Regions from separate parts of the Homo sapiens genome. Here all the other regions are linked to region 1. The links are contacts of gene promoters, found by promoter capture Hi-C in blood cells and fetal thymus (Javierre and others, 2016). All regions are on one chromosome and are shown on one strand. Each heading gives the region's core, a stretch centred on a gene start or on the middle of the fragment in contact. The rest is flanking DNA. Distances are from core to core; before and after follow the strand shown. Region 1 holds the start of SFT2D1 (SFT2 domain containing 1). Region 2 overlaps RPS6KA2 (ribosomal protein S6 kinase A2). Region 3 has its middle 38 kb from the start of LNCDAT.

Region 1 (3,670 bases), core at 443-2,942:
GATCACCTCCTCTGAACTCACAGCACTTGTCTATACAGCCAGTCACTCTAATCTTTGATTGATTACTTCTCCACATATCTTTCTCCCCTCTAGACAGTGGGCTCAAGATAAGTGATATTACCTTTGCATCTCCAAAGTTTAGAGTAGCACTGTCCAATAGAACTTTCTGCAATGCAAATGTTCTGTATCTGCGCTGTTTAATACAGTAGCCTTTAACCACATGTGCCTACTGAACATGTGAAATGTGGTTGCTGTGACTAAGGAACTGAATGTTAAATTTTATTTAATTTTAATTAATTTAAATTTAATTGCTCCAGGCGCAGTGGCTCAAGCCTGTCATCCAAGCACTTTGGGAGGTCAAGGTGGGCGGATCACTTGAGGTCAGGAGTTCGAGACCAGCCTGACCAACATGGTGAAACCCCCATCTCTACTAAAAACACAAAATAATTAGCAGGGCATGGTGGCAGGTGCCTGTAATCCCAGCTACTCAGGAGGCTGAGGCAGGAGAATTGCTTGAACCCGGGAGGCAGAGGTTGCAGCGAGTCGAGATCACGCCACTGCACTCCAGGCCTGAGCGACAAAGCAAGACTCCATCTAAAAAAAAAAAAAAAAAAAATTCATTGGCCACATGTGGCTGTGGTAATATACAGAGTTACAGAGTGCAATGAGAACAGATACTTGTCTTACACTCTCTGAACCCAAAACTGTAGCCCAGAACTCTACCCACACCAAGTGCTGAGTAAGTATAATGACAAGGAAGTCAGGAGAGACAAATAGAAGATCCTTATGAAATACAATTCAATTTTAAACGTCCAACTTCTGCGACAGCACACAATAACGTGCAATATAATCGCATGCAATAACAAAAAAACTTACACCGCAGTTCCTGCTCCACTGCTACTTTTAACCTTCTTGCTGGAGGAAGTAACCCTTATCAAGTCTCGCTGGTAAGGCGCAGACACAAGGGCTTTTATTAAGAAAAAAAAAAAAATCTCTTACCAGGGCTCACTGCCTTAACAGAAAAATTTTAATTCAATATTATTTCACTTACCAATGTCCTGTTTATTTTTCCTCCAGTCTCCCTATTTCCAAAAGACCACCCCCCAGCAAACACACACATAACACCACCTTTACCTCCAAAGACAAACAGATGCAACAAGCTTTAGGGTCTCGGCTCACTGCAGCTTGCAGGATAAATGCCCTGCATAGCTACTTACGCTGCACAGCCCGAGGCCAGACCCCGCACCAGGCTCAGAAAACCAAATAGTACGTGGGAGCGATGGATTATTTGGGAAAGCGAGGGCAGACGTTAGCGGATTCCTAAGTCAGAAGGCCAGATGGGAGAGTCGGGGGGGGGCCTCAAAGTGGGTTTAAGTAGACCGCATGGAAAACTGGAAAGTTCTCAAATTCTACCCAGGAAGCAGGCGGAGCCCTCCTAAATCAACCAGCCGGGCAGAGGAGTCCCAGACCCCCGGCCTCGCACCCACCCCACCCGCTCGGCCGGTCCTCAGTGCGGCCGGGGCCAGCGGGCAGCCCCGGGACTGGACGAGGGCGCAAGTTCGCTACCTGCGCAGTCAGGCCCTGCTCCTCGTCGTCCTGGCCGCTCAGGACTCGCCGCAGCTTCTCCATGGCCCTGTTACAGGGCCGTAGCGGCCGCCACTCTGTTGCCTGCCCCTGACGCCCACCAGGAAACCCCGAACCCGAAACCCCACAGACCAGCCGGAAGTCCGGTCCCGCCCGCTTCCTGTGCGTCAGCGCGGCCGCCGTAGCAATGCGCGCATGCTCACCAGCCTTTCTCTCGGACCCGGTAGTGGTCCGTGAAGTCCGCGGAGTGGGCGCTGATGGTGGGGCTATCCCTTCCCACTGTCCGCGAGGTGCGCCGTGGTAACGCGCGGGGACACAGCGCGGGTGTGGACCCCCTGCCCACAGCTGGCGCACAGCCATTGAGTGTAGACCCGACTGGGGCACGACCACTGAACCCTGCACTTGGCGTCCTCCGGGCCCCGCGAGGGGCCTTGCTGGGCGGGTCCGCGGCACCCCGGGTTCCCAGAAGTCGAGGCCCCGAATGCGCCTCCCCTCGCCTGGAATCGGAGAGCGGAGGGCTCCTGCGGGCAGGTGGCCGTGCTCCGAAGAGCGCCCTGCCACCCATGAGGTGGCCCTGGGGGCGTCGCTAGCCTTCCCAGCTGGGTGTCCTCATCCGGAGACACAAACACCTGCCTCAGGATTAAAGCGAGGAGCTGTATTTCAGACCGTCTCAGGAGAAATAGCAAGAGGCTGCCTCACTCCTTTGCCCTTGTGAGAGCTATTTCTTTACTCAGTTCACTGGTCAGCTAGGAGTTTGAAAGAGTGAAATCTTATTTATAAAAGGAATAGCTAATGCAACCCATTTTTCCAGTTTTGTGTGAACAGTGAAACCATTGAACAAGCGTTTACTGTTCTCCGGCTCGTGCTGGATGAACAAACACTAAGAAATGGGGAAGTGGCATTTTTCTCTCTCTCATTTTCCACCATGCTAAGAAAGGAGATTAAAAATCAGGGCTGCCTGTCTAATATGGTCTCCAGAAGTCATTAAGTGATAGGTTTTGCTCTTCTGTTTGCTTCTAGGCTTGGTAAGATGGTAATGAGAATGCCTGTTCTTTTGATTACTTTGCCCACTCCATTTCCTCCCTAAAATCTTTCAGTTAAAAGGTGGATCCTCAAAAAGTTTCATTGTCCATCCTACTGCCTCAGTAGAGATTTTATCTAAACTCAATTAGATAAAAACAAATACCACAGGAACCCTAGGAAAGCAAGTCGCGCCTTCTTGTGATGAAACGGTCCAATGCTCAGCATCCTTTTCCTTTAGGCAGAAGATATTTCTATGTGGCCTGTTCATACTAATATGAGAAGTCTTATCCTTATGTCCTTAACTTTAAAAGGTCAGAAAATAGATTGTAAAATCTATAGAATAAAACTATGTTTCTGTTGAATAAGAGAGTATGTCCGTAAGTGTTACGGGAAAGGGGTCCGGATCCATACCCCAAAAGAGGGTTCTTGGATCTTGCGCAAAAAGAATTCAGGGCAAGTGAAAACAAGTTTATTTAAAAAGTAGAGGAACATCGGTAGTCTGAGGCAGAGAATTGCTTGAACCCGGGAGGCGGAGCTTGCAGTGAGCCGAGATCGCGCCCCTGCACTCCAGCCTGGGCGACAGAGCGAGACTCCGTCTCAAAAAAAAAAAAAAAAAGTAGAAGGACAAAAGAATAGCTACTCCATAGGCAGAGCAGGGCTGTCTATTACCAGGGCTGCTGGTTGCCCATTTTTATGGTTATTTCTTGATGATATGCTAAACAAGGGGTGGATTCATGCCTCCCCTTTTTAGACCATATAGGCTAACTTCGTGATATTGCCATGGCATTTGTAAACTGCCATGGCGCTAGTGGGAGTGTAGCAATGAGAACGACCAGAGGTCTCTCTTGTTACCTTGGTTTTGGTGGGATTTGGCCGGTTTCTTTACTGCAGTCTGTTTCATCAGCAAGGTCTTTATGATCTGTATCTTGTGCTGACCTTCTATCTTATCCTGTGTCTTAGAATGACTTAACTGTCTGGGAATGCAGCTCAGTGGGTCTCAACCTCATTTTACCCAGCCGCTATTCAAGATGGGCTTCTCTGGTTCACATATCTGACATAACTG
Region 2 (3,670 bases), core at 743-3,242, 260 kb after region 1:
AGATATAAAAGAATAAGGATGGGTACACATAAAACTACTTGGAGGAAAACTCCCTTCAATGTATTACCAATAAAGGAATGGGGTTCCCTCATCAGTCAGTCCTGAGCCAAGCAAATCCAAGCCTGGTCAGAGGCCAAGACCTCTGAAAGAGAATGGCTTTTAGAACTTATTGTAATAGTATCCAACCAGTTTTTTAAAGCTTAAAATAAGATACACAAGGTTTGGATATGGAAATCTTTGAAGAGTCATTGGTATCTTATCTCACAGAAAGGGAAAGGCTTTCAATGGGTTTAAAATATGTGACTTGCACTGTGATGCCAGGCAAACTGCACTCACTAGAGTTGATGTGCAGGAGGTTTGGAAGGCGGGGCGGCCTCCAGACAGGGGTCACAGGCCATGGGGAAGATAGGCGGTAAGGTCCACGTGATGATCAAGGAAGGAGGTCGGTTTGAGTTTATGGTCAATAATACTCTGTGTGATGATTAATACTGACTGTCAACTTTACTGGATTGAAGGATGCAAAGTATTGTTCCTGGGTGTGTCTGTGAGGGTGCTGCCGAAGGAGGTTAACATTCAACTCGGTGAACTGGGAGAGGCAGACCCACCCTCAATCTGGGTGGGCACCATCTCATCAGCTGCCAGTGAAGCTAGAATAAAGCAGGCAGGAGAAGATGGAAGAGCAGACTTGCTGAGTCTTCTGGTCTTCATCTTTCTCCTGTACTAGATGCCTCCTACCCTCGATCATCAGACTCCAAGTTCTTCAGTCTTTGGAATCTAAGACTTACACCAGTGGTTTGCCAGGGGCTCTCGGGCCTTCGCTCACAGACTGAAGGCTGCACTGTAGTCTTCCCTAATTTTGAGGTTTTGGGACTCAGACTGATCCACCACTGGCTTCCTTGCTCCTCAACTTGCAGATGGCCTATAGTGGGACTTTACCTTGTGATGGTGTGAGTCAATTCTCCTTAATAAACTCCCTTTCACATATACATCTATCCTATTAGTCCTGTCCCTCTACAGAACCCTGACTAATACACTCTGTGAGGAAACACTGGGCCTGAATATGGGAGACAAACAGGGTGGGGGGTTTCCACCACTGAAATCTTTACTGTGGGACCAGCAGAGCTGTCCCACCGTGGATGGACAAGCTATGTAGGGGTGAGGGGGATTTCGAGGGGACTGTGGTGATTCACCACAGATGCGCCAGTTGGGAGCTGCAGAGAGAGGCCTGGGTGATGGGCACATGTGATGTCAGGCACAGTCATGGGAACAGATGGAGAAAGGACACGGGGAGGGGCCACAGATGCTGAGAACCAGCCCATGGTGTTCACCCACGAAAACGAGACCAAGTGAGATGGAGAGAAAGGAAAAGAAACAAGATAGTGCACGCCATGGGAGGCAAGAGAGGGGCACAGGTGGCTGGGGACATAGGCTACGGGATAAGTCGAAAGAATGGAGTCTCTAGAGGGCAGAGCTGGTGGCGAGGCACCCCGTGAGGCCCCAAAGGACACAGCCCCCGAGGACGAATGGGACTCAACAGGTGGAGACAGCTCATCTCTGAGGAGGTGGCAGTCACTGAAGGGAGAAAAAAAGGACAAGAGACAAATGTGAAGCCAACACCTGGCAGCCAGGCCATGGGGGCCATTTGAGCATCTCTACAGGACACAGAGCTGGGGAAAAGGACGGCAGTGGAGCGGGTGCTGGGCTGCAGGGTGGAGGAGGAACTGGCTTCAGAAGGAGGAAGAGCATCTCTTCTTCTGGGAAAAAAGGTAGGAGGATTGGAATAAAGATAGAGGAGACATTTAACACATAAAGAAAACGTAAGCCATTTTGGAAACAATCGTTCTGGAATGCAATGATCATGGAGCTGATAACATGCAAGATTGCAGCTCTAATAGACACTGTAGGCAAGCCAAAATTTTCATGAATTTTTCATGGATTTAACTAGTAGCCTCAAAATGACCATTTCATATTATTAAACATCAAGAGACAAGAAATATCCAATGGGTGACGGCATCATCGAGAAGAGAATAGAAACAGATTTCCGGAGTCCACGGGCTGGTGAGATGCTCTAGAGAGCAGGACTCTGCTCTCTGGTGTGCCAGCCCCAGCCGGGCACCGTGCTATTGTTGGTTTTCATCACCCAGTTCCTGTCAGAACCACTGCAGTCATGCCACAGACAGAGCTTTTGTGCAAATGGTATTTTCTTCCCTATTAAAATGTTCTACTCTGTTCCCATCTAAATGGGTCCAGGAGCAGTCCCAGAGACACCTGCAAATTGCACAGAGGCATGGTTTGATTTCACATGCTCCTGATGACCATAATTGTTGCTATTATTTTCCTTACTATTTCACCTCTCAGGCAGAAAGTAAACAAAACACTTCTCAGGAGAGAGCGGGGAGAAAGGAAGAGAAGACATTGTGGGGCCAAATTGGAGCACAGGACGGCATTTGTTGAACCGTTCTGATTTCCTTTGATGCTTTCCCTCCCTGCTGTTCAGGATAATGCCTTGTTCTCCTCCCTAACTTGGTGTGGAAGGAATCCCTCCAAAAGGCAATGGGGGCAGACAGACCACGCTTTTATTTTCTTATAGGCATTTATGTTCTTACAGGAATGGTTTAGAGAGGCTTATGGATGAATTAAATGGTTTGCAAAATTAAGACTGGATTCTCTACCAAGTAGATAGGCAGGGACAATAAAGGAATAAAAAGCCACATTTGGAGCTAATGGCATTGCAAAACCAATTCTGGATGGAGAAGTTGGAATCAGATGACCCTCTGAACTTGAAGACATTTGGTGAAACAGCCTGGAGTCTGCCCATCATGCACTGAGTCACGGGTGGTTGGTGTGGGTAGACGCTCTAAACATTTTGGCTCTAAGCGCCTCTGTTTATACAACATTCTTTCCCGTTGCGTCAGGAATAGGAAGCCTGTTTTCTCTGAGATAATGGAGTCAGGAAGAGAAATCATGTCCCAACTCTGGTAGATTTTGTGGCAGTCCAGGAAACAACAAGGCTTTTCTTTGTATAAGCACACAGCACCGCTCTTTCCTACCTCCCTTCTTTCCTGCCTCCATCCTTGTATTCCACAGCTGATCAGGACTCAGCTCATCCCCATCAGACACGGCTCACTCTCAAGTGGTCCTCCAGGTGGGGTTGAAACAGTGGGGTGTCCGATGCCCAGGCAGGGCCCAGCCCGGCCTGTCTCAGGGGTTACTGCTGCTTGTCCAGGTCTGTAACTATTGTCCCAGGTTCGGTGATCAAAATCTCTCCAGATAAATTTCATCCTAAGAAATAATTAAAGAATCCAGAGCAGGAGTCACCTGGTGCGTGCCATATGTAAACAACCACTCTTGAGGATGTTTGAAGAAGCACTGGATTGGTATCAAGGACTGAAAGCAGGTAGAGGTTTTTAGAAAGGTAAATTCTGCTAACTACAGACAGGGAGATTGGAAATTAGCTTGACAACGTCTTAGGGAGGAAGCAGTGATCAACAATAATCAGGAGAGTCATATGAAATATGTGCTGATTTCCTTCTCTCCTCTGATGAGGTTACCAGATGGGTAGGTGTGGGGAAAATGGTAAACAGTGTCTCTGGTTTTCAGGAAGAATTTAACAAGGTTTTCTCATTATATACACCGAATAAAATGAAGAAATGATGACTGGCAGATTAAT
Region 3 (3,670 bases), core at 462-2,961, 140 kb before region 1:
AAAAAAATGCAGCCTCGGGTCGCTAGGCATCGCTTCATCCTGTTAAATTCCCCAAAATAGCATGTATCGCTGTCAAACATGAGCATCAGGACTTTTATCCAAACAGGAAAATTTTCTGTTCTTTTAGTCCCAAGTATATGGAGCACACTTATTAATTAGGACATTATGACGGGCTCTGTGTAAAAATGGGAAGTGAATCTCTCAATATGTGTTTAGTGAAATTAAAGGTACATTGAATCTACTAAAGAAAAAAAACACTTAAGCCTGGGAAATTATCTTTGTGTTTTTTCCTAAGTGATTATTATTAGACACCAGAATAGCACCAAACCGAAAAAAATCTCACGACTGAAATATCTCAGAAACGACATTTCAATATATAAAGGAGACATCAATTTTAAGTTACAAGTAAGGAGAAATTTGGAAACAGAACATACAATTTAACTAAGATTAAGTCTTTCAAAATAATAAGCAGCACTCTAAAACTGAAATCAAGAACGATTTTCATGACTATTTGAATTTTTTTAAATTAATGTTGGTGTTTTTTTTGAGACAGGGTGTCACTGTGTTGCCCATACTGCAGTGAACTGGCAGTGTCATAGCTCACTGCAGCCTCAAGCTCCTGGGCTCAAGTCATCCTTCCACCTCAGTCTCCCAAGTAGCTGGGACTACAGGTATGCACCATGACATCTGGCTAATTTTTTAGTTTTTGTGGAGACGGAATCTCGATATGTGGCCCAGCCTGGCCTCAAGTAATCCTCCTGCCTCAGCCTCGCAAAGTGCTGGGATTACAGGCATGAGCCACGACACCTGGCCTAAATATTTCTCAAAAATAAACCAAGAATGATTTTCAAGGCCTAAGAAAAAGACATGGCACTGATGAGATTTTGAAGACTTTTATTAAAAGTAATAAGCATAGTTCATTCACCCAAAACTGACAGTGGAAAATCTGAATGTTTCAAGTAAGTAGAGGAAATTCCCCCAAATGAAGAGGGGATGACAGAGTCCTGAAGTTAGCTACTGGACACCTTCAGCGGCAGACACTGGAAGATTAGTTACAAGAGGGCTCGACAGGCCTGCAGGTAAAACAAACAAAGCAAAACAAACTGAAACAAGAAAGCACAGCCAGGCTCTCTCTCCCCAGCTCAGCAGGAGCTCCAGCCCCAGCTGCCATCATTCCTAGCACTCCGGTAGCAGCGTTACTATTACTAACACTTACGGTATCTTCAAAATCATCCTCCTGGCAACCAATGTGAAGTCACCACCAGGCCCAGAAAGTGGCTGTGACTCTCCCCTGGTGGCCAACACTGCTAGCTGCTGACCTAACTTCCGTTACCCATCCTCTTCCTCACTACCAGGCCCGTAGGTACTGCTGTGGGGTATAAGGTGCGCAGCTGAAGAAAATGCATTTTTCCAGCCCCCTTGTGAGATGGGGTGGCCATATGACCACGCTCTGGTCAGCAGAATGTCAGTGAAGTTTTTGGGTGGAGATTCCAGAAGCTTCCTGAGAAGAGGGCTGGCGGGATGGGCAGGGATCCCCTCTGTCTCAGGCCCTCTGCCGCAGAGGTAGTATGAGGTCAGGAGCAGGAAGCCCCCACCAGCAACAGGCAAGAGCGAGCAGCACCATGGGGTCCCCAAGCCAGCCAGGGACTCTCAGCGACAGGAGAGAAAGGCAAGCCTCTGCGTTCTCGCAAGAGGCTCTTTTCTGGAGGCGGTTTCAGTTTTGCGGTGCTGAATCCAGTTCTGTAAGGGAAGAAAAAGTTATTTCCTCACCCATTGCTAGGTTTATGGCTGAGACACCTATCATAAAAGACAGATAAACAAGAGAAAAGCAGGCGAATTTATTTCATTGTATGTAATTTTTACATGACACAGGCACCTTTAGATATGAAGACCAAAAGGCACAGGGAGGCCTGTGTATCTTTAGGCTAAGCTTGATGGAGAGCGGACAGTGGTGGAAAAGGGTGAGTACACAGAGCGGGTGTCACCTGATGGCAGTGAACTGCGGGAATATGCAAGGTGCCAGATTTCAGGGTCTTGTGTCCCAAACCCCATTAGTGTCTAACTCAGTGTGGATATAACTGCTGGGACGCTAGCAGCGGTCTCTTTGGAAATTGCCAGAGCGCGCCACCGCGGCTGCTGGGTCACTGGGCTTCTGTGTTATGATGGATGCTGTATTCGTCATCCATCATTTGTGGTGTGTTGTAAAGCATCACAAACTGGGTGCCTTTAAACAACAGAAATTTGTTCCCTTACAGTTCTGGATCCCAGAAGCCTGACATCACGGTATCGGCAGGGCCGTGCTCCCTCCTGGGAAGCTTCCCTCCCCTCTTCCCTCTTCTGGCATTGCTGGTGCGTCAGCCCGGTCTCCACCTCCGTCTTCACACAGCCATGACCCCGTGTGTCTCTCCTCCTCTTCAGATGTTCTTCAGTAAGGACATCAGTCATGTTGGATTAGGACCCACCCTGATGACCTCATCCTAGCTCACATCTCGATGTCATCTGCAAAAATCCTATTTCCAAAGAAGGCCACTTCACAGGCCCCAGGACTTAAGATTTTAATGTATCTTTTGCAACAAACACCTTAGCGAAATTTCTTGCAACACACACCTTGGTTTAATGTTCTTGAACTAATCCACTGGCCTCTGGGACTCAGGCATAGCTCTTTGGGCCTCTCAAACTGGCCTGATGTCCTGGGACCAAATTTGCACTGTGCCTAACCTTGGGCTGAGGATTTTTGCCAGAAAGCTCTGGTCTCTCATACCCCAGGCAGGCCCATCCTTCCAGTCCTCCAGGCAAAGCGAATCTGAACTGTGTTAGTTCTAGGCTGTGCCAAGTCCAGGCTCCCTGAGGTTTCTACACTGCCTTTATATTTATAGATCTTAAAAAAAAAAAAAAAAAAAAAAAGGTACTGTTTCTGGTATGGTTTGGCTGTGTTCCCACCCATATCTCATCTTGAATTGTAGCTCCCATCACTCCCACTTGTTGTGGGAGGGACTTGGTAGGAGATAATTGAATCACAGGGGCAGTTCCCCCATACCGTTCTCATGGCAGTGAGTAAGTCTCACGAGATCTGATGGTTTTCTACGAGGAAAACCCTTTTGCTTGGTCCTCACTCTCTCTTGTCTGCGGCTATGTAAGGCATGCCTTTTGCCTTCCACTATGATTGTGAGGCCTCCCCAGCCATGTGGAACTGTGAGTCCATTAAACCTCTTTTTCTTTATAAATTACCCAGTCTCAGGTATGTCTTCACCAACAGGGTGAAAACAGACTAATACAGTTTCTCCCCGGCTTCCCTGAAGACCCACCAGTGTCAGAGGAAGGCGACTTCACAGCCCAGCACATCTGGGACTCAGCTCACTTCAAGGGTAAAAATCTCTTTGAAGTCACATGTTTTACTCAAAAAATCTCGTTAACTTTCCTTTTACTGCTTAAAGTACTTGTGTTTGCTTTCTCGTTGTAAGAATGGTTTTTTGCGCGTATCTTCAGGTGCAGTCAATGCCCAGGAATTGTGCACTACCTGCTCTTGAAGGGCCCTTTTCTCCTCAGTTCCTGGGGGTGCTTCCCCTGCTTGAGAAGCACAGGTCTTTCCTGTTAGGGGTTAGGGTTAGGGTTAAGCCCTCATGTCCCATCCTGGATTTGATCTCTACCACCCTGTGGAATGACAAGAAAT

The links. Contacts are between HindIII fragments. The CHiCAGO score rates a contact against its expected background, and 5 or more counts as called.
Region 2: a contact is called between a fragment that was not itself captured here and the fragment with the promoter of SFT2D1 in region 1, in 1 of 17 cell types (M1 macrophages). The highest score is 5.4, in M1 macrophages.
Region 3: a fragment that was not itself captured here is called in contact with the fragment with the promoter of SFT2D1 in region 1 in 1 of 17 cell types (neutrophils); the score reaches 5.2 in neutrophils.

The regions. Positions count from the first base shown.
Region 1 is chr6:166,340,853-166,344,522 of GRCh38, forward strand. It overlaps SFT2D1 (SFT2 domain containing 1), which reads right to left and starts at 1,693. Exons shown (of 8, transcript NM_145169.3): 1 at 1,567-1,693. The coding sequence starts at 1,629. It overlaps LOC100289495 (a long non-coding RNA gene), which reads left to right and starts at 1,779. Exons shown (of 2, transcript NR_040022.1): 1 at 1,779-2,295. RefSeq lists a silencer at 1,404-1,563 and an enhancer at 1,625-2,518. The HindIII fragment of the contact is 4,850 bases long and covers 1,159-3,670 here.
Region 2 is chr6:166,595,772-166,599,441 of GRCh38, forward strand. All of the region lies in intron 1 of RPS6KA2 (ribosomal protein S6 kinase A2), which reads right to left. Among named protein-coding and RNA genes, the nearest start is that of RAMACL, 11 kb to the left of the region's middle. The HindIII fragment of the contact is 3,591 bases long and covers 198-3,670 here.
Region 3 is chr6:166,203,862-166,207,531 of GRCh38, forward strand. No RefSeq gene overlaps it. Among named protein-coding and RNA genes, the nearest start is that of LNCDAT, 38 kb to the left of the region's middle. RefSeq lists an enhancer at 1,532-2,731. The HindIII fragment of the contact is 433 bases long and covers 1,496-1,928 here.